Regions from separate parts of the Homo sapiens genome. Here all the other regions are linked to region 2. The links are contacts of gene promoters, found by promoter capture Hi-C in human tissues and cell types (Jung and others, 2019). All regions are on one chromosome and are shown on one strand. The core of a region is centred on a gene start or on the middle of the fragment in contact, and the rest is flanking DNA. Distances in the headings are between cores, read along the strand shown.

What was found. Contacts are between HindIII fragments. The study calls those that stand out against the background at their distance.
Region 1: a contact is called between a fragment that was not itself captured here and the fragment with the promoter of SIX6 in region 2, in 3 of the 25 tissues and cell types used here (H1 embryonic stem cells, IMR-90 fibroblasts and bladder).
Region 3: a fragment that was not itself captured here is called in contact with the fragment with the promoter of SIX6 in region 2 in 1 of the 25 tissues and cell types used here (thymus).
Region 4: a contact is called between a fragment that was not itself captured here and the fragment with the promoter of SIX6 in region 2, in 2 of the 25 tissues and cell types used here (bladder and liver).
Region 5: a fragment that was not itself captured here is called in contact with the fragment with the promoter of SIX6 in region 2 in 1 of the 25 tissues and cell types used here (mesendoderm cells).
Region 6: a contact is called between a fragment that was not itself captured here and the fragment with the promoter of SIX6 in region 2, in 2 of the 25 tissues and cell types used here (mesendoderm cells and thymus).

Annotation. Positions count from the first base shown.
Region 1 is chr14:60,256,575-60,259,914 of GRCh38, forward strand. The region is part of intron 1 of PPM1A (protein phosphatase, Mg2+/Mn2+ dependent 1A); the gene reads left to right. Among named protein-coding and RNA genes, the nearest start is that of PPM1A, 9.0 kb to the left of the region's middle. The HindIII fragment of the contact is 8,153 bases long and covers 1-3,340 here.
Region 2 is chr14:60,507,063-60,510,400 of GRCh38, forward strand. It overlaps SIX6 (SIX homeobox 6), which reads left to right and starts at 2,084. Exons shown (of 2, transcript NM_007374.3): 1 at 2,084-2,908. The coding sequence starts at 2,337. It also overlaps a transcript of C14orf39 not described here. The HindIII fragment of the contact is 5,424 bases long and covers 1-3,338 here.
Region 3 is chr14:60,341,050-60,344,475 of GRCh38, forward strand. No RefSeq gene overlaps it. Among named protein-coding and RNA genes, the nearest start is that of LINC02322, 20 kb to the left of the region's middle. The HindIII fragment of the contact is 4,956 bases long and covers 1-3,426 here.
Region 4 is chr14:60,367,478-60,370,928 of GRCh38, forward strand. No RefSeq gene overlaps it. Among named protein-coding and RNA genes, the nearest start is that of LINC02322, 46 kb to the left of the region's middle. The HindIII fragment of the contact is 7,405 bases long and covers 1-3,451 here.
Region 5 is chr14:60,323,916-60,327,241 of GRCh38, forward strand. No RefSeq gene overlaps it. Among named protein-coding and RNA genes, the nearest start is that of LINC02322, 2.4 kb to the left of the region's middle. The HindIII fragment of the contact is 3,430 bases long and covers 282-3,326 here.
Region 6 is chr14:60,280,416-60,283,727 of GRCh38, forward strand. It overlaps PPM1A (protein phosphatase, Mg2+/Mn2+ dependent 1A), which reads left to right. Exons shown (of 6, transcript NM_021003.5): 2 at 2,269-3,122. The coding sequence starts at 2,289. Among named protein-coding and RNA genes, the nearest start is that of PPM1A, 33 kb to the left of the region's middle. RefSeq lists an enhancer at 1,866-3,065. The HindIII fragment of the contact is 7,012 bases long and covers 1-3,312 here.

The sequences.
Region 1 (3,340 bases), core at 647-3,146, 250 kb before region 2:
TCTTATGTTTTCCTAGCCTTGACGTTAGCAACTAACAATGATAACTAACATTATTGAGCTCTTATGTGCCAGGGACTATTACAATAGATTTTCAATTATTATCTCATTAAATCTTCATAGCAGCCCTATGAGCTAGATACTGTTACTACCTATATCTTAACAGATGAGGAAATTTGAAACAGAGCAGTTATTTGCCAAGAGTTTCAGAGCTATTAACAGAAGCCTAATACATGTTCTTGGACTTTGCAGAAATAATTTGTTGATCCATGCGGTTTCATTGCTACTGCGGAAAGTAAGTCTCTTGGCCATTGTGATGGGTCAAAATCTTTGTACATGAAGGGTATGACTGTTGTTCCATTGTATCCAGAGAGTGAATCTTGTGATTGAGTTGGGATTTGAGGTGGCAGTGTATACTAAGTTTGAAAAGTATATTATCATATGTTAGCTCCCTTTAGAAATTTTCCCCAAGAAGAGCTATTACATTTTTTAATATTAAAAAAGCATAAGATATGGCCATAATACAATTAGTTCCACAAGCCATACACACTTTTTTCTTATGGCTTAAAATTTTATTCATGTTTACTACTTTGCAACCCACTGATATAAATTATTTCACAGATCCTTTATTCAAATGAAATTCTCAGTGAGTCTGAGAAGATAGTCTTAAACACAAGCTAGCTGAGTTTACAATAGAGATTATACTATAAATGGTAACTTCAATGTTTATTGAAAATAAATTCCTTAAAAACAGGTCTTGTTTCATTCATTTAAAGAGATTATCAATATATGACTGTTAAATTTTTATAGTCTCCCTGTTCATTTTCTGATGAACACATGACAGAAAATTGAATGTGAGCTGGAAATACAGCAGACTATGAGAAAGCATGGGTCATGTATAATCACTTTAAATTTAGGCTGGTGTTTTGTATTCATCTATAATATGACCACCTCAGGGAGGGATGTAAGTAAACATTCTTTTTTTAGTTATACTTTAGGTGGCTTAATTATTTTAAAGAATATGTTATTCAAGAATTGTCTATTGTACTGTTTTAAAGAATAAGAATATAATTCATTACCAACTTTGAATGTCTTGGATTCTTAGTACTACCTTTTTCTTTATCATGACTAGTAGGATCACATCATAATTTGGTACTGTGTGTATAAAGATGAAGTGTGCTTACCTTTATTACCAAAATTCAGAAATGAAAATGTGAATGATAAAAGATAAGGGATGGCTATATATTTTTTTGTTTTTGTTTTTCCAAACAGAATCTCATAACTTACCAGGCTTTAGAAAAACATCTTTGCAGTATGCCATCATACCTCAGAATGTTAAGTAGATAGGAAATAAAATTTTCACTTTTTGTAAAGCAGTAGGGTATTATCCTTTCTGACAGCCTGTAAGACTGTTTTGGTTGCCAAGGGGCCAATCTTAGAAGTGGCAGTTTTTGTTTTGTGACCAACCCACAGCTTACCCTTTGTTAGTCCATATCTGTCATCTTCATTTTCTCTTTCTGCGTAAATGCTTCTTGATACAGTAAGCAGGTGTTTCAACTAGTCAGCCATCTAGTGTGATCTTTTCTGGTTTGCTACAGTCAGTAAAATAAGTAGCTCTATAAGTGTAAATAGTATTACTTGTTTTATGTAGTAAAACTCCAAGATTAAGTTAGAGATATTTTTGGCTAGACTACATTGAATGCATTGACAATGGATTTCCCAGCTCCCAGAAATTCGTTTGTGTCTGAATTACTTTATACTTGGCTTATTGTGTAGAGAAAACTTTAGAAAAAGTTCATCCATCCATGAATGTTGAATGAATGAGCAGATTAATAAATAAATAGCTCAGGGAAAGAAAATGTGTGGGCTTTTAGTCATAACTATGTTTTTTCTCTTTTGTTCCCTTCCTTATGTGCCATTTTTCAATAATGGGAGTGTGTATCTAATGATGTTGATAAACTTTTTAAAGTCATTGATGAACAGTAATCTGAAAATCAAGTTTTGATTAAGCCGTAGATTTCTTTTAGGGTCCAATATTTTCTTTTTAGAAATCCACTATGATATTTTTGTAGGGATAAAAGACAACCATGTATTCTATAGATGGAAAATGGTAGGATACAGTTTGTTGGCCGGCCAACTTCTCTGAAAATACTTTTTCCTGCATAGAAGATAATCAGTGTTGACAAGGGAGAAGCCAAGGTATAATGGCTGTTATTCATCTGTCTCATGTATTCGTCAAGTGTCATGTGTTAAATATGAACAAAAAAGACATAATCTCTTTCCTCCTGGATCTTAAAATCTAAAGTGAGAGATAATTCACCAGATAAATGCTGCGATAAGGGAAATAGAGGATTCTATGAGCTTATGACTAAGGATAGATCTGTTTCCTCAGATGTGGAACTAAGAAGTGGCAGTAGTTGAGAAGTTCATTTTGGGCCATGCGATTTGAGGTGTGGCTATTCAAGTATAGGAGGTAGGTGGTTACACATTTTTTAAGCTATTAAATAGAACTTTCACTTGAAAAGGTTTTTTTCTCTCTTTCCTCAGCATCTATCTCCCTACATACACAAAAAAATTGCATGTCACAATTCATGAACTCAGTGAGTGACTCTATTTTGAAAAATGTTAGATTATATCAACTGAAGTCTGTTAGAGGCAAATGCTTTTGGTCATTTTTTTCAGCAGGGACATTTCATATGTGTAAAATATTTAGAATCCCCATGTATTTATATATAAATGAATCTTTTACCATCTTAAATGTTTAATAAGTTATATTTTTCCTTTCTTTCAACTTAAGTATACAAGGTTATCAGCAAACATTTGTAGATGCTCTATGTGAGGTGTTTTGTTTATTAGTTTTAAGGAAGAGAAAAAAGGATGGATTGGATCAGGAAGTCAGTTATTGTTTTCTGGGTTAGTTTGAGTCCAAATCCTCAAATATGCGGCGATTTATAAGTAGCAAACTAGGAATTTAATCCACTTCAGTTTTGGATAACTTGGATAAGACACTTTCTGTCTATAGATCTGTCTATAGATAACTTGGATAAGACAAGTTATCCAAAACTGATAAATCTGAATTAGTTAACAGATGAGGCAAATTGAGATTGTAAATGCTAAAAGATTATTAGAAAACTTTATAAACTAAATAGTTCTATGCCATGTCTTTTTAGTATTTTGCTTGTACTATAATTGTAGTGAAAATAGGTCAGTATCTAATTTTTATAGTCACTAGAGCTCTCCAACTAAATTTAGCTTAGATGTTTTTCTAGCAATTATATACTTACAAAGTTTACTTTTAAAAATTGTGTAATACATGCCTTTATAGAAATTTAAGAAAACGACT
Region 2 (3,338 bases), core at 834-3,333:
TCGGGGTCGGCTCTCGGCTCGGCTCGCGGGCTGTAAGGTCTCCGCGGACCCCACCGCCTCTTCTGCGCGCTAAGGGTGAGCGCCAAGCAATTTCGCGAGCAATAGCCGGCAAAGTAACCACCCCGAGAGGGAAAATAAACCTCTGCAAACTGGAGCAAGGGGGTGCTTTCCTCCCCTGGCCAGAAGCTCCGGGATCGCAGCCCTCCCGGGTCCGGCTTCATCCCTGCCCGGCCACCGAGGCCCTCTTTTTCTGCACCGCGGATTCTCCTCCGCCTGCGTGTTCGGGGCCCTTGTATCCGATGTTTCTTTCTAAAAGTTGTCCTTCCGGCTGATTCGGAAGTCGCTCCAAGGGAAAGAAGGTTTATGCTTTGTCATTATCTTCATCGCCCTCTTTATTTTGCCCCTGCCTTGTCGTATTTCAAGAAAATGAACTCTTAGAAAAGAAAGCCTCTCCGTTGAGGCGGTTGGCAATCTCACAGAAATGATGTAAATGGTTTCAGGGCTTTTTTCTTCCCCTCTGCTATTTTTTTCGAGTGAACTGTGAAGATCTGTGAAAATAATATCAGGGTTTTCCGTCAGAACGAGCTTTGCCCTGCACTCAGGCGTGGCGTGATCTGACCCGACACCTCCAACCATCTGTGCTATCTATCTGCCTTCTGATTTACCAGATCTGTACAAGCCGCATACAAATTGTACTTGATACTAAAGAAAAGACAGTCGGGTCCAGTCCAGTTCGGCTGTGAACGTTCTCACCTGATTTCTGTCTAGGGATGGACCTCCCCAAAACGGTTTTCCTGGCGTTTTTGTTATACAGCCCCCTACCAGTTATTTTCTTCAAACTAAACAAACCCCTACCACAGGCCCAGATGAGATCATGGTTTCTTTGACCCAGGCCTCAGAAAATGGTATGATGTGGACTGCCAATTGGGAATCAATAAAAGTTGCCAATTCACTCCACTAGCCCAAAGTCAGAGCCACCAAGCCACTCCTTCCTCACTACAGGAGGGGTCAATAATCAGCGGCTTAGGAAGTGCTTTCTGGGCCCCCGCATTGTCGTGGATGCCCTTCTGTATTGTATTTTTACTGAATTGTTTTTGAGCTAAAATGCCAAGGTTAGAGTTGTTATCCCCAGCTCAAGAGGTATAAGTTCTAACACAAGGTAGGGGCAAAATAAGCCTACAAGGAAAGGAGTTAAGTCGATATTTTAAAAAAGATCTAGGAAATAAGCTTTTAAGTTGCTGTCCTGACCTACCAATGACTTCTCGGCTCTAGATGTGGCTATGCTGCACTTTGTTCAAGTCCATTAAACTGGGGGAGGGGGAGAAAGTATATTTCTCCCCCTTTATTTGGAGGTCCCTACAGCCCACCCTTCTTTTCTTAAAGTGTCTGACTTCGTGGTCTGCATCTGCGTTATCAGACGTGAACATGTCCTTGTTGGCATTTAAAATTATTTTAGTGGGCTTTGAAGGGAGTAAGGCTAGAGTTCAAACTGACCTCTTCTACAGATCCCTGGTCCTGTTCCTGCTGCTCCAGATTTGCTTCCCACTCAGCTGCTTTGGCAACTGGAAAGGGGAAGAGGGAGGCATGCAGAGATGGGTACTTGGGAAAAATGAGAAGATCGCTTCCCCCCACCGGCTTCCTGCTCCCACCGCAAGGTTTGCTGTTTCGTTACAACTAAACTTGCGAATTCTCGGAGCATTTCAGTTTGGCCCAGTCCTCTTTGTCCTCTGGAGACCTCTCGACCGAGACAACGCATCGCCCCAAAGTGAATTCCTGAATTCCTGTGGCATCACTGCCTATTTGGTGGGAAAAAGGGAGGGAGGGGTAGAGCGGGGTGGGGGAGGGAGGAGTAGTGAACGCTGCCGCACTCGCCTCTCTTTTTCTCCCAGACACTCGCATGTCTTTTCAACCTCCAGGTTCTGCAAAATACTGAAGAAAAGTCCAGGAGCTAACGGCGGGCGCTGTCGAGCACGGGGAGGTGCTGAAATAGTCCTGGCGTGCTGATTCAAGCTTTGATTGGCAGAGCCACCCGGTGACTGACAGGGGGTCTCCATGGCGCCCGCGCCGCCAATCCGCCCACCCCAATAGCGGAGCCAGCTCGCCTGCCGGCGTGCCTGAGCCGAGCCGAGCCCGAACCCCAAGCCGCGGAGCCAGCACCTCCTCCAGTCGGGGTCGTCCGCTCCCGGCCGTTGAGCCACCGCCGCCACCCGGTAGTGTGTCCCGCTGCCCCAATCCGCCTCATCAACAAGCGCCTGGCACACTCAGCCAGGCCCGCGGGCATCTGCTGCGTGTCCCGCTCCGGGCTCAGTGCCCTCGCCGCCGCCGGCACTGCCTCGATGTTCCAGCTGCCCATCTTGAATTTCAGCCCCCAGCAAGTGGCCGGGGTATGTGAGACCCTGGAAGAGAGCGGCGATGTGGAGCGCCTGGGTCGCTTCCTCTGGTCGCTGCCCGTGGCCCCTGCGGCCTGCGAGGCCCTCAACAAGAATGAGTCGGTGCTACGCGCACGAGCCATCGTGGCCTTTCACGGTGGCAACTACCGCGAGCTCTATCATATCCTGGAAAACCACAAGTTCACCAAGGAGTCGCACGCCAAGCTGCAGGCGCTGTGGCTTGAAGCACACTACCAGGAGGCTGAGAAGCTGCGTGGAAGACCCCTGGGACCTGTGGACAAGTACCGAGTAAGGAAGAAGTTCCCGCTGCCGCGCACCATTTGGGACGGCGAACAGAAGACACACTGCTTCAAGGAGCGCACGCGGCACCTGCTACGCGAGTGGTACCTGCAGGATCCATACCCTAACCCCAGCAAAAAACGTGAGCTCGCCCAGGCAACCGGACTGACCCCTACGCAGGTGGGCAACTGGTTCAAAAACCGCCGACAAAGGGACCGAGCGGCTGCAGCCAAGAACAGGTCGGTACCTAGAGGCCTCCGCGCTTTGAGCGCACCGGGGAGGAGGCGGGTGGAGGCACCTCTGGCGCCCTTACCCAGTCCCTGGCGACTCCAATTCAGCAGGAGTTGGGAGCGCGGTCTGTCTTGGGTTAAGAGCCCTGCGTTCTGGGCTCCTGGCCGGGAGTTCCCTTGCCGGCTCTGCTTCCCCACCCGCTGGCTCCCCACGCCTGCGGGCAGCTGCAGCAGCTGGTCCCGGTCACCAAACCAAGGCTTCACTGGGACGGAGAGGGGAAGAGAAATAAAAAATTAAAATCCTACAAACAGTTAGGGACCCCAAGACCCAAAGCTAATTCTTGTCAGCCTGGGCACAGGCTCCTACTATTAATCGAAGCCTGGCTTATTAGCAATGTGTCGGTTTCATGTTAATTATCATTTTCAAAGCCCAGGTATA
Region 3 (3,426 bases), core at 720-3,219, 170 kb before region 2:
CATACTGAATGGGCAAAAACTGGAAGCATTCCCTTTGAAAACTGGCACAAGACAGGGATGCCCTCTCTCACCACTCCTATTCAACATAGTGTTGGAATTTCTGGCCAGGGCAATCAGGCAGGAGAAAGAAATAAAGGGTATTCAATTAGGAAAAGAGGAAGTCAAATTGTCCCTGTTTGCAGATGACATGATTGTATATCTAGAAAACCCCATCGTCTCAGCCCAAAATCTCCTGAAGCTGATAGGCGACTTCAGTAAAGTCTCAGGATACAAAATCAATGGCAAAAATCACAAGCATCCTATACACCAATAATAGACAAACAGAGAGCCAAATCATGAGTGAACTCCCATTCACAATTACTACAAAGAAAATAAAACACCTAGGGATCCAACTTACAAAGGATGTGAAGGACCTCTTCAAGGAGAACTACAAACCACTGCTCAATGAAATAAAGGAGGACACAAACAAATGGAAGAACATTCCATGCTCATGGATAGGAAGAATCAATATCATGAAAATGGCCATACTGCCCAAAGTAATTCACAGAGTCAATGCTATCCCCATCAAGCTACCAATGACTTTCTTCACAGGATTGGAAAAAACTACTTTAAAGTTCATATGGAACCAAAAAAGAGCCCACATTGCCAAGTCAATCCTAAGCCAAAAGAACAAAGCTGGAGGCATCACACTACCTGACTTCAAACTATACTACAAGGCTACAGTAACCAAAACAGCATGGTACTGGTACCAAAACAGAGATATAGACCAATGGAACAGAACAGAGCCCTCAGAAATAATGCCGCATATCTACAACCATCTGATCTTTGACAAACCTGACAAAAACAAGCAATGGGGAAAGGATTCCCTATTTAATAAATGATGCTGGGAAAACTGGCTAGCCATAGGTAGAAAGCTGAAACTGGATCCCTTCCTTACACCTTATACAAAAATTAATTCAAGATGGATCAGAGACTTAAATGTTGGACCTAAAACCATAAAAACCCTAGAAGAAAACCTAGGCAATACCATTCAGGACATAGGCATGGGCAAGGACTTCATGTCTAAAACACCAAAAGCAATGGCAACAAAAGCAAAAATTGACAATTGGGATCTAATGAAACTAAAGAGCTTTTGCACAGCAAAAGAAACTACCAGCAGTGTAAACAGGCAACCTACAGAATGGAAGAAAATTTTTGCAATCTACTCATCTGACAAAGGGCTAATATCCAGAATCTACAATGAACTCAAACAAATGTACAAGAAAAAAACAGCCCCATCAAAAAGTGGGTGAAGGATATGAACAGACAGTTCTCAAAAGAAGACATTTATGCAGCCAACAGACACATGAAAAAATGCTCATCATCACTGGCCATCAGAGAAATGCAAATCAAAACCACAATGAGATACCATCTCACACCAGTTAGAATGGCGATCATTAAAAAGTCAGGAAACAACAGGTGCTGGAGAGGATGTGGAGATTTAGGAACACTTTTACACTGTTGGTGGGACTGTAAACTAGTTCAACCATTGTGGAAGTCAGTGTGGCGATTCCTCAGGGTTCTTGACTAGAAATGCCATTTGACCCAGCAATCCTATTACTGGGTATATACCCAAAGGATTATAAATCATGCTGCTATAAAGACACATGCACACGTATGTTTATTGCGGCACTATTCACAATAGCAAAGACTTGGAACCAAGCCAAATGTCCAACAATGATAGACTGGATTAAGAAAATGTGGCACACATACACCATGGAATACTATGCAGCCATAAAAAATGAGTTCATGTCCTTTGTAGGGACATGGATGAAGCTGGAAACCATCATTCTCAGCAAACTATCGTAAGGACAAAAAACCAAACACCGCATGTTCTCACTCATAGGTGGGAACTGAACAATGAGAACACATGGACACAGGAAGGGGAACATCACACACCGGGGCCTGTTGTGGGATGGGGGGAGCAGGGAGGGATAGCATTAGGAGATATACCTAATGTTAAATGACGAGTTGATGGGTGCAGCACACCAACATGGCACATGTATACATATGTAACAAACCTGCACATTATGCACATGTACCCTAAAACTTGAAGTATAATAAAAAAAAGTTTGTTGTTTTAGTTAAGTGAATATTTAAGCTACAGATTTCCAATAGGCCTGTGTCCATTTTTATTCTTTTTTATGCTTTCATAGAAGCAAAATGTAAACTTAATATTTTTACAAGTTTTGACCATTAATGGCATTATTATTTTTGTACCACAGCCCAAACCGTAAAATTTTACATGATTTCAATCAGTTTCCCCGGCTCTTCTCACTTCTCAGGGCCTTCTTAGGGGCAAGCATGGTTCTATTTGTCAACCTGCCCCATACACTTACCCACAGAATTAAGCATACACTTCTCAGACCCAGTCTCTTTCTGTGCGACATATCTTGAACCACCCCCCTTACCTGGACTCCTTTTGTCTCAGCTCTGTACCACAGCAAAGTGGACTGTGAACAGGAGGCAACTTCCCCTGCTACAAGCTCTGCCTCCTCTCTAAATCTTGAATACCTTGCCCCCATCTCCATCTGTGAAGATCCGAGCCACCTTCCTTGTTAAGAGCCACGATTTTTCTCTGCTTACTCTGTGTCAGGTGTTGTCCTTAGCACATCATAGTGCATCATCTTGTGTAATCCCCACCACAACCTAGGAAGTGGGAAATACCACGATGTATTTTACAGATGGGAATCTAAAGCAGAGAAAAGTAAATTTGCACCAGGTCACGCTGCTGGTGTGTGGGTTGGAGTCAGGACTGAAACCCAGATCTGTGGATTCCATGCCCAAACCACTGTGCTGCTTTAGACCTTTCTCAAGAGCTATCTTAGCCATACAGCTTTGCTTCATTCCCCAACCGGTTTTTACAGATCACACTTTAGAACCGGAGAGTGGAGACTATTTTCTGTTTAATTTCAATGCCCTCTTGCAGCACCTCACACTAGCCCTTTCACATAATGGGAGTTCAGTACATACTTGTTAAATTAAATTTACCTAGAAAACAATTAGTCACAAAACTTCATGGTCTTGACAGTAAACTCAGAAGTTCAGAGACCATGGGCAGTTACAGAAGGCTTATGTGGACGTGGAACTCGGTTAGGCTTTGATTACCTGGGTGGATTTGGTGAGTGAGAAGGAAAGGAGGGTCTACTCCACATGTGGAGATCACCTAAAGGAAGTCAAGGGAGGAGGAAAGATCATGGCATACCAGAGGAACCGTGAAAAAAGCAGTGCCTAGTAGACACAATGACTTAATGTGCTTTGGGGAAGGATATGAGATTGGGCAGATTAAATAGGCTTTATGGATTATGGAACGATTCGAGTGCCAGGCAAAGAACTGTGGGCCTAATGCTTGCTGATGATTTAGATATTCTTCTGTGACATTGTGTT
Region 4 (3,451 bases), core at 88-2,587, 140 kb before region 2:
AACTCTAAAAGTGAATGATCATATTTACAGAGACTTGCACTTACAGAGTTGCACTGGTAGAAAATGGCACTTACACCAATATATTAATATTTCTGATTAATTGACAATCCTCAGAAGGCTGAGCATACTTGAAAGGAACATCTTCTCAAAAGTTTCACACCAAGAGTGCAACAAATTTTTGTTTGTTTGTTTGTTTGTTTTGTTTTGGACAGTCTCACTCTCACCCAGGCTGGAGTGCAGTGGCGCAATCTTGGGTCACTGCAACCTCCACCTCCCAGGTTCAAGCAATTCTCATGCCTTAGCCTCCCAACTAGCTGGGACTACAGGCACGTGCCACCACGCCTAGCTAATTTTTGTATTTTTCTTTTTTTTTTTTTTAGTAGAAATGGGGTTTCACCATATTAGCCAGACCATATTCTGGCCAAACAAATTCTGGCCAGGCTGGTCTCAAAATCCTGGCCTCAAGTAATCCATCCACCTCGGCCTCACAAAGTGCTGGGATTATAGGTGTGAGCACTGTGCTCTGCCAACAAACTTAACATAAAGAAATAAGAGGTGTACTACAGGATGCAGATTTGGGGAGGAGAAATTCTAAATAGTCTGCTTCAGTGGAAGATCCCTAAGACCTACAAACTGTAGTTGGAGTCAGTTCTGATATGTGAGTTTCAAGAACTCAGTCATATATACATACAAAGAGTCTAAAGCCTATCCTTCTCCCTCACTAGATTGTAATCTCTTGAAGAGCAGAGTATATATTCCAGTACATAGTAACCTCATAGTAAGTATTTGTTGAACTGAATAACTGCAGGATGACTGATATTAATGATAGAATAGTAACTACGAATTTGCAAAAATTAAAAAGCATTACCTTCTACAACATAGATGAAAATTATACATCGAAAACCTATTATGATTCCATTACACAGAATTTGTTCTTACCTATAAATAAAACTGCCATTGTCAGAGAGCAAGGAGAATTGACAATGTTTCTGGAACAAATACAAGATTTATATGTGCTTATCATGTATCAGATACTGTTCTAAGTGCTTATGTATATTAACTCAATTAGTGTTCACATAAACCCTATGAGAAAACTAAGACTAAGGAAATATCCTAGGGTCACATAAGCAGGTTTTGAACCCATTCATTACAAAATTTTTTAAACTATTGGTAAAATTTTGAAACATGTAGTTTATTCAAACTGTGTATTTTTTAAACAACCAAAAGACTTAAATCAAATCTCTTATTGTCATATTTTCAAAAGAATTATCACACTTTGGGAGGCCAAGGTGGGCAGATCACTTGAGGTCAGGAGTTCTAGACCAGCCTGGCCAACATGGCAAAACCCTGTTTCTAGTAAAAATACAAAAATTAGCTGGGTGTGGTGGTGCACGCCTGTAATCTCAGCTACTTGGGAGGCTGAGGCAGGAGAATCGCTTGAACCTGGGAGGCAGAGGTTGCAGTGAGCCAAGATGGTGCCACTGCACTCCACCCTGGGTGACAGAGTGAGACCCTGTCACAAACAAACAGACAAAAGAAATGTCAAACTGGGAAGTGGTGTCAGTAAGATGATGAACCAGGAAGCTCCAGGCCTTCCTTCCCCTACAGAGACACCAAGTTAACAACGATATGTGAACCAGAATACCTCTGAGAAATTATGAGACCAGTTGAGATGCTATAACACACAGGCCAATATAAAACCAAGAAGGGATTCAAGTGAAAGGCGATAAGAAAGTTCACATGTTTTGCTTGCTCATCCATGTCCCCTCTCCATGTGGCTTAGCACAATGCAACCAGGAGGAAACCCCTCAAACTCAAGCTACTCCTTCTGGAGTGAATCATGCATCCAGTGTTCTAAGTTGCATGGGAGCCACCAGAGGGACTAGTTTTGGTCTTGCTTGATGGATCAAAGGCATAATTTGGAGGCCAATCAAAACAGAGATAAGCACTGCCATACATTAGAGCTGCAGTTTTGCAGGCAGATGCCAAGGGAAGCAAGAAATCAGAGAAGGTTTGAGAGGCTCTAGAATCTCTAGCTAGGCTGATTGAAGTTCATCTGCACAAAGACTGGGAGTGGTGTTTGCTTTTACAAATACCCAAATCTCAACAAAAGATTATAAGGCATACAAAGAAACAAGAATCATGGCCCAATAGAAAGAAAAATAAAATAAAATTCAGAAACTGATCTTAAAGAAATGCAGAACTATGAGCTGCCTGACAAAGAATTTTAAATAGACCAGGTGCAGTACTTTGCGAGGCCAAGGTGGGTGTGTCATTTGAGCCCAAGAGTTCAAGACTAGCTTGGGCAACATGATGAAAACTCATCTCTGTAAAAAGTACAAAAGTTAGCTTGGTGTGGTGGTGTGCCCCTGTGGCCCCAGCTATTCGGGAGGCAGAGGTGGGAGGATCACCAAAGCCCAGGGAGACTGAGGCTGCAGTGAGCCATGATCTTGCAACTGAAAAATTTTTAAATAACCATCATAAAGATTCTCAATGAGATAAAAGAAAACACATGTCAACAATTAAATGAAATAAAGAAAATAACACATGAACAAAATGAGAATATAAAAAAAGAGATAGAAACTATTTTTTAAAAGAAACAAACAAATTCTGGCACTGAAAAATACAACTGAACTTAAAAAAATTACTACAGAGGTTCAACAGCAGACTTGATCAGGCAAAAAAAAAAAAAAAAGAATCAGCAAACTGGAAGACAGGTCATCTGAAATCATCAAGTCAGAGGAGCAAAAAGAAAAAAAGAATGAAGATGAGTGAAGAGTGCCTGGGGGACTTATGGGACATGATATCATTTGGATCTATGTCCCCACCCAAATTTCATGTTGAATTATAATCCTTAGTGTTGGAGGTGGGGCCTGGTGGGAGGTGATTGGATCATGGGGGTGGAGTTCTCATGAATGGTTTAGCACCATACCCTCTGTGCTGTTCTCATGATAGGAGTGAGTGAGTTATCATGAGATATGGTTGTTTAAAAGTATGTAGCACCTCCTCATTCTCTCTGAGTCTTGCTCCTGCCATGTAAGGTGTCTGCTTCTGCTTTGCCTTCCACCATGATTGTAAGTTTCTTGAGGCCTCCCCAGAAGCACATGCTGCCATGCTTCCTGTACAGCCTGCAGAACTGTGAGTCAATTAAACCTCTTTTCTTTATAAATTACCAAGTCTCAGGTATTTCTTTATAGCAGTGCGAGAACAGACTAATACAGAAAACTGGTACCAAGAGTCGGGCATTGCTATAAAGATACTTAAAAATGTGGAAGTGGCTTTGGAACTGGGTAATAAGCAGAGGCTGGAAGAGTGTAGAGTGCTCAGAAGAAGACAGAAAGATGAGGGAAAATTTGAAACTTCTCAGAGACTTTTTAAATTGTTGTTATCAAAATTCTGATAGCGAGGTGGACAATGAAGTCCAGGTTGAGAAAGTCTCAGATGGAAATGA
Region 5 (3,326 bases), core at 747-3,246, 180 kb before region 2:
CTTGTCAAGAAAAACAAATCTGCCTGCTATCAAAGGCATAGAAAATGCCCCTTACCATGACAGCAGTTAACTATGTTCACTGATATCAAAGAGACTGTCTGTCCCCAAGCCTTGGAGGCAGTTTTGTCAAGGTCAATTCGGCTGATCTTTTTCAACGATAACCCAAAGAGGATTAAGTTAACATCTGACCTTTAAAGAGCTTTATTGTTGGGGAACCAAGCTAATTAAAAAATTAAAAGACTGCTTTTGAAAAATATTTAGACCAAACACTAAGGAAAACATGAACACACTGCTTATAGCAGCAGGAATATTGACAGAAAATCCCCAATGGCAAACTAGCTTTGTTATCACACTGTTGAGCTTAATGTGGGGACTCTGGAATCAAACGAATGGGTTCCAATCCTGGCTCTGCCACTTTCTAGTTTCTAGAAAGTGTTTCTAGAAACACTAGTTTCTAGTTTAGTTTCAAAGTAGGGCAAGTGTCTTGCCTTCTCTGAGCTCTGTTGTCTTATTTGTAAAATCGGGATAATAATAGTAATTATCTATAAGATTATTGCAAGGATTAAATGAGATAGTACATGTAAAGCCTTTTCATTTAGGCTAACTATAAATATTACTGTGGACATTTTCAAGTTTAAACATTTTTAAATTTTGCTTTACCGACTTGTGCCATCATGTTGACAGCTGAATGGAATCTCTTGACAAAGTGGCTGGTTCTCACTATCTCCAGAATTCAGAGAAACATCTAGGTTCTGAGCTGGCTCAGCTTTGGACCAAATGTTACTAGCATAGATATAGCAGCTCTTACACCCCAGCTGCCACTGCACTTGATCATCTGCCCCATTACACATATGACAACTCTGTTTACTACTAAAGCTATCTTGAAGAAATGGAATTGTGAGAATAGGGATGGTAATGTTGTCCAGAAAAAGTTCTCTCTTTTAAGTTCTCCTATAAATACTTTCCAATTCAAGGAGATACTGTTCATTGTTAAATGTTTTCATCCAAAGCAGTGTTCCTCACCCTGGCTTCCGGTTTGCTTTTTCTTTTTCTTTTCTTTTCTCTCTTTTCTTTTCTTCTGTCTCTTTTCTTTTCTGTCCTTTCTTTCTTTTTTCTTTTCTTTTCCTTTCTTTCTTTCTTTTATTCTTTCTTTCCTTCTTTCTTTCTTTTTTCTTTCTTCCTGCCTTCCTGCCTGCCTTCTTTCCTTCCTTCCTTTCCTTCTTTTCTTTTCTTTTTTGACAGCATCTAACTCTGTTACCCAGGCTGGAGCGCAGTGGTGCATAGCTCACTGCAGCTGCAGTCTCAAACTGCTGGGCTCAAGTGATCCTCCTGGCTCAGCCTCCCAAGTAGCTGGGACTACAGGTGCACACCACCACACCTGGCTAATTTAAACTTTTTTTTTTTTTTTTTTTTAAAGACATGAGGTCTTGCTATGATTCCCAGGCTGGTCTCAAATGCCTGTCCTCAAGAATCCTCCCACTTTGGCCTCCCAAAGTGCTGAGATTATAAGCATGAGCCACTGCACCCGCACTTGGCTTGGTTTTCTTTTCATTGGCTTATGTGGTGGTTGGAGTTATCTCTTTTGCATGTTGACAGGTGTCATAAAGCCATAGGAGACTTTGAGATGGCCTGAAAATAAGATCATGGATTTTTCCTGGCAGAGAGTTTAGTTTACTTTCAAACCCCGCTAGCCTTTGCTACTCAAAGCCTGGTTCATAAAACCAGGGCTTTGACTTCACTTAGATGCTTCTTAGAATTGCAGAATCTCTTGCCCCACAGTCTTGCTCTCTCAGGCTGGAGTACAGTAGCACAATCTCAGCTCACTGCAACTTCCACCTCCTGAATTCAGGTGATTCTGGTGTCTCAGCCTCCCAAGTAGCTGGGATTATAGGCATGCACCATCATACCCAGCTACTTTTTGTATTTTTAGTAGAGACAGGTTTTTGCCATGTTGTCCAGGCTGATCTCAGACTCCTGGCCTCAAGTGATCTGCCCATCTTGGCCTCCCAGAATGCTTGGATTACAGGTGTGAGCCACTGCACCGGCCACAATCTGCATTTTAACAAACTTCCCAGGTGGTGCCAATGACATTAAAGTTGCAGCAGCACTGCTCAGGAGCTGTGCATTGGAATCACCTGGAGTACTTGAAAAACTATTGATGCTCAGGTCCCAACCACAAAGACTCCCCCAACTTAACTGGCATTGGGGTTTTAAAAAATTTCTCCAGGTCATTGTAACTAATGCACAAGGTGAGAACTTGTGCTCAAGAGACATTCTTTCTTCTTCCTCCACTTATTTCTACAATTGCTTTTCTCTTAAAGTAAAAATCTCAAGCTACAGTCAAAGTTCATTTCATGTCCATTTTATAGATAATGCCACACAATGTGAAGATTCATTCTGAATTTAAAAAATAACCTTTACAAATATCTTCTGAACCTTTGCCAAGGTCCCCACATCCCTCTTTTATTGTGAGGTCCAGAACTAGACACAGTCCTCCAGTACAGCCCTCAACATCACTGAACAGCAGCACAAGGGATGTTTGTATTCTTCTGAATGAAAGGTACTGTTATAAAGAAAGTCAGAACATTCGAAGGGGGTGGGGGCGGCTTTGATGGCCAAGCAAAAGATTTCCTCATGCCTACACTCAGTCTGGGAGTGAATGAGCCAGTTACATAAGGAGAAAATCCTCCTTCCTAGTGTTGAGCTTTCCTAATTGGAGGACTAAATGTGTCATTATTTAACTAAATAATTAATAAGCTTTCTTGTAATTCATGGATGACTAAACAGATAAACTCACCTGTACCAAACTTTCAGAGAGAGTTCCACTGATTTAATAAATTTGGTTCATGTCATCAGCATAAAAGTCATCTGAACCTTGAGCCTCAAAGACCAGTGACCTCCAAACTTGACAACTCAACTTATAAGAATCAACTCGGCTGCTTACTAAACATATATAGATGTCTGAGCAAAGGTATTTGTGGTTTTTAAAAAACTACATCAATTCTTCTCAAACTTTAATGGGGGTGGTGATGTGGTGAGGGCAGGTCTTGTAAAAAATTTAGACTCCCATCAACAGGTCTGAGTAGGGCCTGAGATTCTGCATTCCTAACGATCTCAAAAGTGATACCGTGCCGCTACTTCATGGACCACACTTTTAGTGGCAAGGCCCTAGACAATTTTGATAATCAGCCAGTTTGGGAACCAGAACTTGAGGCATCATAAATGTTACCTGAAATATGAAAAAGCTAATCTCCGCCTCAATGTTTATCAGCAGCTCAGGGTGCATCAGTGAGTGTTACACAGACGGATACAAAATGTGGGTGGGC
Region 6 (3,312 bases), core at 40-2,539, 230 kb before region 2:
TCATAACTTATTTTCTTTAGTACTTCATGCTATTGGTGAATTCGTAGAGGAAGGAAGTTTGTCATTACTATTCTTTTCTGTTGGTTTGTCTCTTAAATGTGTTTAATTTTTTGAGTTTCACTCACGTCTCTTTTTTTCTTTCCTTTTCTCAAGGTAGTGGAGTCTTTCCTCTGTAAAACTTCACCTTGTTGTTTCTAGTCTAGGATAGTGGTCTTGTAACCTAGGATAGTGGTCTTGGTTACTGCAATTTTGGTTGATTATTTCTTGTTGGCCCTTAATGTGCCCCCATCTTCTGCCTTAGGCATTCCATCTAATCTTTTCCAGCAGTTTGCAACCTTACTGTGCCTCAGAATCACATATGAAAATTTAAAAATCATAGATACCTAGGTTCCAACCCTACCCTGGAAATTCTGATTTGGAAATATTTATTTTTCAAAAAGTCCACAGATAATTCTGTTGCACAGCCATGGTAGAGACCCATTTTCTTAGGGGTTAATGATGCTTTAGAGTCACGCAGACTTGAATCAGAGCCCTGATTCCTTTAAACTTATTAGTTGAGTGATCTTGGCCAAGTTCTTTAATCTTGGCTAAGGTTCTTCATCTATAAATTGGAGATAATATTATTATCTACCTTAGAGAGTTGTTGAAGAGATTAAATGAAGTAATGCTTGTAAAACACTTACCAGAGGGACTTAGAATACTTCTTAAACATTGCCTGCTAATAAGGTGTCATTATTACGTTATCCTTTATCCAATCAAAATACTCACCTTTGCAGTGTGTATCAACTTGATGTCAGAAAAATAATCTGATAAATATCACCATAAGGGATGGATGATAGCTAGTTTTCATTACTTACCTTTCGTTAGTTGAACTGTACTAGGAGGCAGAGGAGTAGGCAGATGGTTTTATCACGCCAATCAGCCAGTCTTTTCTGCCTATGTATCAGTTTGGACCTATAAGGAAAATGAAGGGGAAAACAAATGTTTTTCTTTCCTTCCTAGGAGGATTTTCTTCTTGCCCTTTTTCTCCCAGTTTCCTCTCTGAGCTGAGTATCATTAGCATCATCAATACCCTAGTTTCAGAGCTGCGTAGTGATTTACCTAGATACTTTTCTCCACCATTATTCCCTACTACCTAACTCCTCTTCACCTCCATTAAATCTCTGTTCATCATGCTATCCTTCTTTTGGATTGCCTTTAGTTCAGTTGTGACTTACTTGATTACTTGAACCCAGGTGTCTACATTTCTAAGCTATTGTTCAAGTAAGGGCCAAGGTAAATTCTAACCAGCTGTCTCTTTGCCTTGTGTGGGCCCATTCTAGACCAGCGGGTGTTAACTTTTGAGTATTGGAAAAGGATTAGATTAGCTGAGCCTTCAGGCTTGTCAGCAGGGCTGTCACTAGACCCTTTGATCTTCTTTATATACCTAATGGTCATAGAGTATAATAATAATGGTACATGTTATTACTATATGATTAATAGATTACTAGTAGTAATTTTGTTATATATGTATACAGTACACTTCGTTATGTATATATATAATTGCTTGCAACTTGAAATTTGAGGCTACAACATTTACAGTAATTTAATAACTTAACTGACTTTATCAAAAACTGAAAAACCTCATGGAAAAGGTAGAATGTAAGGTAGACTTAAAAGGATAGGTATACTTTTTTCTATAAATAGGATGAGGCAAGAGTTTCCAGTTAAGGAAACTGACATGAGCAAAGGCTTGAAGGAGCATGCAAATTTGGAGCATTGTGAGTAGATTATTTTTTAGTTTTTCAGAGTTCATGCAGTGGGAATAAAACTAGGGAGTTTGGAATCAAGCTTGAAAATTCCTGAATGTTCAACCAAGATATATTTGAGTTAGTAGATTTTTTGGGTATGTCATGAATTCGTTTGGCTTTTCTTAATTGATATACATACAACTTAGTCCTGAGCTTACACATGTTCATTGTATCATTAAACATTTAGCCTGGTTGGTTTAAGTTGATGGCCACTGCCAGGTCTCCTTTCTGCCTTCTCCCCTTTATCCCAATGCTTTAGTTTTTTTCTGCCTTTTTGTCTGTTGTGATCTGTGCTTCATCAGGCTTTCCCCCAGTTCCTCCTTGTTAATCTCCAGATTCCAAGTCAGCAACACAATGAATGTCTGCTTATCGCGAGTTGTGAATTCCCGCATATCTCTTTCACTTATTAAAAAGATTGTTTGGTACATATTTTGTTTATAAGACAGTTATTGACTTTCCTGTTTCTCTTCCTTTGCAGACCTAGAGGATCAAGACATAATGGGAGCATTTTTAGACAAGCCAAAGATGGAAAAGCATAATGCCCAGGGGCAGGGTAATGGGTTGCGATATGGGCTAAGCAGCATGCAAGGCTGGCGTGTTGAAATGGAGGATGCACATACGGCTGTGATCGGTTTGCCAAGTGGACTTGAATCGTGGTCATTCTTTGCTGTGTATGATGGGCATGCTGGTTCTCAGGTTGCCAAATACTGCTGTGAGCATTTGTTAGATCACATCACCAATAACCAGGATTTTAAAGGGTCTGCAGGAGCACCTTCTGTGGAAAATGTAAAGAATGGAATCAGAACAGGTTTTCTGGAGATTGATGAACACATGAGAGTTATGTCAGAGAAGAAACATGGTGCAGATAGAAGTGGGTCAACAGCTGTAGGTGTCTTAATTTCTCCCCAACATACTTATTTCATTAACTGTGGAGACTCAAGAGGTTTACTTTGTAGGAACAGGAAAGTTCATTTCTTCACACAAGATCACAAACCAAGTAATCCGCTGGAGAAAGAACGAATTCAGAATGCAGGTGGCTCTGTAATGATTCAGCGTGTGAATGGCTCTCTGGCTGTATCGAGGGCCCTTGGGGATTTTGATTACAAATGTGTCCATGGAAAAGGTCCTACTGAGCAGCTTGTCTCACCAGAGCCTGAAGTCCATGATATTGAAAGATCTGAAGAAGATGATCAGTTCATTATCCTTGCATGTGATGGTATCTGGGATGTTATGGGAAATGAAGAGCTCTGTGATTTTGTAAGATCCAGACTTGAAGTCACTGATGACCTTGAGAAAGTTTGCAATGAAGTAGTCGACACCTGTTTGTATAAGGTAGCTAGACTTTTTTTAAAAACATAAAATGATTTTATGCCATATTAATCACTACTCTAGTATTTAATCATCTTAGAATCTGTAATTCTGAAACCAGTTTTTGGCACAACTGTAGGATACTGTTCACCAATTATGAAAATATATCATAGGACCACTATGTAGAAATAAATTACCCAATTACCATCTCTGC